Linked DNA regions of Homo sapiens: region 2 is linked to region 1. Evidence: promoter capture Hi-C in human tissues and cell types (Jung and others, 2019). All regions are on one chromosome and are shown on one strand. The core of a region is centred on a gene start or on the middle of the fragment in contact, and the rest is flanking DNA. Distances in the headings are between cores, read along the strand shown. Region 1 holds the start of BTBD8 (BTB domain containing 8). Region 2 has its middle 63 kb from the start of GFI1.

The links. Contacts are between HindIII fragments. The study calls those that stand out against the background at their distance.
Region 2: a fragment that was not itself captured here is called in contact with the fragment with the promoter of BTBD8 in region 1 in 1 of the 25 tissues and cell types used here (mesenchymal stem cells).

What each region holds. Positions count from the first base shown.
Region 1 is chr1:92,079,003-92,081,674 of GRCh38, forward strand. BTBD8 (BTB domain containing 8) reads left to right here and starts at 1,343. Exons shown (of 18, transcript NM_001376131.1): 1 at 1,343-1,718. The coding sequence starts at 1,570. RefSeq lists an enhancer at 2,616-2,672. The HindIII fragment of the contact is 3,183 bases long and covers 1-2,232 here.
Region 2 is chr1:92,422,979-92,425,650 of GRCh38, forward strand. No RefSeq gene overlaps it. Among named protein-coding and RNA genes, the nearest start is that of GFI1, 63 kb to the right of the region's middle. The HindIII fragment of the contact is 5,594 bases long and covers 1-2,672 here.

The sequences.
Region 1 (2,672 bases), core at 93-2,592:
GTTGTAAGGATTAACTGAGTTAAAACACACAGAGCAAATAGAGTAGCGTTTATCACATAATAAGGATTCAAATATAAGCTACTATTATGTTATCTTTGACACCCCTCGTTTCTACAGGAATAATTAAGAATCAATTATCCATCCAAGCATTTGGGAATTAATTTTAAAAAATCAATTATCCAGTTATATTTTTCAGAATTAAGATGTCTGAATATTTGAGAGGGGGCATTATCTGAAGAAATGGTTACCTCTTGGCCAATCTTATGGTACAAATACAAAGTCCATATATTCCCCTCCCCGCCTCCTTTTTTTTTTTTTTTGTTTGGTAGAGACAGGGTCTCCTTATGTTGCCCAGGCTGGTCTCTAATTCCTGGGCTCAAGTGATCCTCCCGCCTTGGCTTCCCAAAGTGCTGGGATTACAGGTGTGAGCCACCGCAACCTGGCCAATGTATTTTCCAAGCAATTACTATTCTTCACCTTGTGTGTAGAGTTTGTGAATGAAACAGATTTTTTTTTTTTTTTTTTTTTTTGAGACAGGGTCTTGCTGTGCTGTTCAGGCTGGAGTGCAGTGGTGCAATCATGGCTCACTGCAGCCTCGACCTCCCGGGCTCAAGCCATCATTCCGCCTCGCTTCCCAAGTAGATGGGACTTGCCCGGCCCGAAGCGGAACTACTGAGTTTCCTTATTTTGGAGGCAGTAATCAAATAAAAAATACCAAAACCTTAAATGATAATCAGTTTGCTACTTTATTTGGGACAAAAGAGAATTCTATATTTCATCCATCCATCACTTCACTGCTCAAAGACTTTGCCCCTTACCTATTTCTCCCTTCTTGGTCATAAATGTTAGGGCTTTATATGCAAAGCCCTGTGCTTTCTCCGATCAAGTCCAAAAGCTTGTATGAGCCACTCCTTGGATAAGAAGGGGATGGGGCCTTCTAGATGCTGTAAGTATCTCTTATATTGAACTCAGAATTGTTCTGACTGGCAGTTTATGAAGTTCTTCCCCTACTCCTCCCATCGCCAATTTTTCTTGCCCCAAACATTTATACCTCAGGGTTAAGAAGCCAGGTAAGTGAGGGGGTGTGACTCGCCCAGTCTTTCGTTGGAAAAAAGTGTAGACCTGTCAGGAAGACACAGCATAGAAAGGCTGCATGTGCTGATTTGAACTCGAGCCTCAGTAAAACATTGAAATGAATGAACACCAACCGGAAGGGAAAGAAGAGGGGAGGGGATAAGGAGCCTGAGGATTGGTTTGCCCCGCGGGATGGTCCGCGCCTGAGCCATGGGAGGCGGGGTGCCCGCCGGCAGAAGTAAACAGAGCGAGTACGCCTGCGCACGCTCTTCCTGGGTCAAGAGCCGGCTCGGTTCTGGGATTCTGAGGCTCCCCACCGCGGTCCGGCTTCTCTGGGAGACTGTCTACAAACCGACGAGAGGCGTCAACCTTTTACCCTAGGGGGCGGATTTGGGTAGGAGCCGAGCGTTCGGTCGGAAACGCCCCCTTCTTCCTCCTGGGCGGGGCAAGTGAGGCCAAGTACTGGGCCTCCAGGGCGTCGTACCTCTGTGAGACATGGCTCGCTGTGGGGAAGGCAGTGCGGCCCCCATGGTACTTCTGGGGTCCGCTGGAGTTTGCAGTAAGGGGTTGCAAAGGAAGGGGCCGTGTGAGCGGCGCCGGCTGAAGGCGACGGTGTCGGAGCAGCTCAGCCAGGATTTGCTCAGGTAGGAGGAGGCGGGAACTCTGGCTGCTTCAGTTCCTAAATCGCCCACCTCCGCCCCGAAGCTGAGGCTTCTTTCGGCTCTGCCTCCCCCTCCCTCAGCACTTGGTTCTCCTCGCCTCAGGCGACTGCGGGTCGTTAGCCAGTCTCCCCACTATTCCGAAAAGTGGCTTCGCTCGCCCTGAATAAACAATCCCGAGCACCTCGACACCATGTACCAGATTCAAAAGGAAAACAAAAAAAGCTTAGTCGTGTGCAGCACTAGTTTGCTAGAAATATCTCAACACAGGCACGCTTAGTTGTTTCCAATCACTAAGGTCGGGTGGATCCAGGTCCTGAAACTTACACAATTTTTAAAATAAGCTTATACTATTTTAAGAAAAATAATAAAATTAGGAAAACGATTATTTGAAATGAGGAAAGAACAATACTATAGTCTTGGAGGTCTCTTCTGAGGTCTCTTTAAACAATTTACCAGAAATGCTTCCTGATTGCGACCTGGATTCCTCTCTCCACCTAGAGCTCTCTGTAGCTCCCAGCAACTCTCAGCTCCTGTGAGGACCAAAGCAAATGGAGGGTCTTCCTGACATTTAACCTTTGTAAGCCTCATGGATATCCTTCTCGGGTTATTGGGAATCCAGCTAAAGTAATTTCAGCTTACAAAGAAATTGAAGCTTAGAAATATGACCTAGCTAATTTACATTTCCAGCAAGACATTGATTCTTAAACTTGGGTGGGCATCACTGAAATTTTCCATTTCTAACAAGGCCCCAAGTGATGCTAATGCTGCTGGCTAGGGTGACTATGAGAACCACTGAGGTAAACATAATTACTAATAATTAAAAGTTGTGCAGCATTCTACTTTTTTTTTTTTGGAGACGGAGTCTCGCTCTGTCGCCCAGGCTGGAGCGCCGTGGCGCGATCTCGGCTCACTGCAACCTCCACCTCCCGGGTTCAA
Region 2 (2,672 bases), core at 95-2,594, 340 kb after region 1:
CTCAAAAAAAAAAGATCTGGCTTCCTGGCTGGATGCCATGGCTGACGCCTATAATCCCAACACTTCGGGAGGCTGAGGCAGGAGGATTGCTTGAGTCCAGTAGTTCAAGATCGGCCTGGACAACATAGTGAGACCCTGTCTCCACAAAATTAAAATAAAAAAATTAGCTGTGCATGGAGGCACATGTTTGTAGTCCCAGCTACTCGGGAGACTGAGGCAGGAGAATTGCTTGAGCCCAGGAGATTGAGGCTGCAGTGAGACATGATGGCCCCACTGTACTCAAGCCCAGGTGACACAGTGAGAAGCTGTCTCAAAAAAAAATTAAAATTAAATTAAATTTTTAAAATCTGGTTTTCTGATGTAAAAGCTTGCTCAGAGATCACAGGCTGTGGTTTCCTTTTTGTTTTTTTTTGTTTGTTTGTTTGCTTTGTTTTTTGAGATGGAGTTTCGCTCTTGTTGCCCAGGCTGGAGTGCAATGGTGCAATCTTGGCTCACTGCAACCTCTGCCTCCCGGGTTCAAGCAATTCTCCTGCCTCAGCCTCCTGAGTAGCTGGGATTACAGGCATGCGCCACCACACCCGGCTAATTTTGTATTTTTAGTAGAGATGGGGTTTCTCCACGTTGGTCAGGCTGGTCTCGAACTCCTGACCTCAGGTGATCTGCCTGCCTCAAGCCTCCCAAAGTGCTGGGATTACAGGCATGAGCCACCGTGCCCAGCCAAAAGCACATCTCTTCTAATTGCTGCCACAGAACAGAAAGGAAGCTTTTCTTTCCAAAAAATGTTTATTCTCCAGTTGCCTAAGGAGAAACAGCGCAGGTTAAAACGGAACAGGTCAAAACTCCCATGCTAATCAGTAGTGGGATTTCACCTACGAATGGGCACTAATGGGCACTGCACTCCAGCCTGGGCAACACAGCAAGAACCTGTTTAGAAACGTATTTTTGTTTCATTAAAAAAAGCTTTAGTATGTTTTCTTCTCACTTGCTGTAATTGGAGGAACCTATTCTTGGAGGTAGGATGAGGTCAGTCCCATCCAAACCTATGGCTCAACGGAAGACAGTGGACAGGTCCCCAGAGGAAGATCAGGATATAATTTGACCAAAGGATGGAAGATGTTTACTACAGGTCTCTACTAGACACCAAGCACCATGCTACATTCTGGAGACATAATGTTCAAAGACACAATTCCTGCCTTCCAGGAGTTCACAGGAGAACAGTGATGAGGAAACAGTTATAATACAGCACAAGGAGAAAAGCATGAACCTGAGAACACACAGGAGCTCCTCCTGCTCAGCCACTCCAACGGGGTGAAGGGTCATAAAAGAGTGAAAGTGGGGGGTTGTCATGGAACTTCCCAAAAGAGGTAAATCTTTTAAACTTTTTTTAACATTATTTTTTACACACAGCCTCCCATAGGAGAAGGGAGTGAAATCTTGAAGGATAAGTAAAGCTTTATCAAGTGTAGATGGAAGAAGGGATTTCTAAGCACAGAGCACATCAGCAAAAGCATAAAAATCTCAAGAAAATGGGAGTAGCTGAGAATGACTGGACCATAAAGTACATGCAAGAGCCAAGGAGAAGAGGAAGCAGTCAGGAGAGAGTGGTGACACACGAGGCTGGAGAGGTGGGCAGACCTCAAAATCAGGCCGTGCTGACATTTATGCCAAGATTTAAGTGGCATTGACATAAACTCGACAGTTGGAGATCTGGGTAGGGTAAAGCATGAGGAAAACGTCAGGCAAAAAAACAGGGAACCAGAAAAAAGCCTGAAAAGGTGTTACCACAGAGGTGGAAGGACCAAGTAAAACAGAAGGAAAAACATTTAAAAGGGAAAGATAGGAAGTGGCAGTTGCTGCAAAGAGATTAGGGAGGCTAATTCCTGAGAAGACTTGTGATTAGTAATTAATATTGACCTTGACCTCTGACAGAACGATTTCAGTGACAGTGAAAGGGTTACGTTTGCTTGGAATTTAGTGAATGGGATTTAAAGTTGAAGTGACGACAGTAGGCTACTCTTTCAAAATATTTATGTTTTGCAAAAGCTATGTATCCAAATACTTATAAGATGCACTCAGTAATTCCCCTTCAGAAATTTATATTAAAGAAATAATCAGAAATATGTGCAAAGATGTATCACAAAGGTTGTACTGTTACTAATTATAGCAAATAATTGAGAATAACCTTGTGGTTATGGTTTAAAATGGCTAAATAAATTATAATGCATCCATATAATGAAAAGTTTAATGCCATGATTAAAAAATAATGTGGTAGAATACTTACTGGTAGAGTAGAAGTGTCAGATTACAAAATATAACATCCAGAATGCTCTCAATGTTGAAATAAATGAATATTATATATGCACAGAAATAAGATTTGAAGGATATAAACCAGAATGTGAACCTCAGTAGTTACCTCCAGAAGTGTGATTACAAGTGTTTGAAACATGTTTAGTTATTTGTACTTTCCATTTTTCTACTATAAATATATATTACTTTTGTAATGAAAAATACTAAGAGCTTGACAATAGAGAAAGGAGGAAGGGATTAGCTTTGAGGGAAACATGGTAGAGGCTTCTATAGTTCGAGGAAGATTTGAGCTTGTTTATGGGTCAAGGGAAAAGAAGGGAGAAATTGAAGCTATATGAGAGGAAATAATAGGAGAAGCCTGCCCT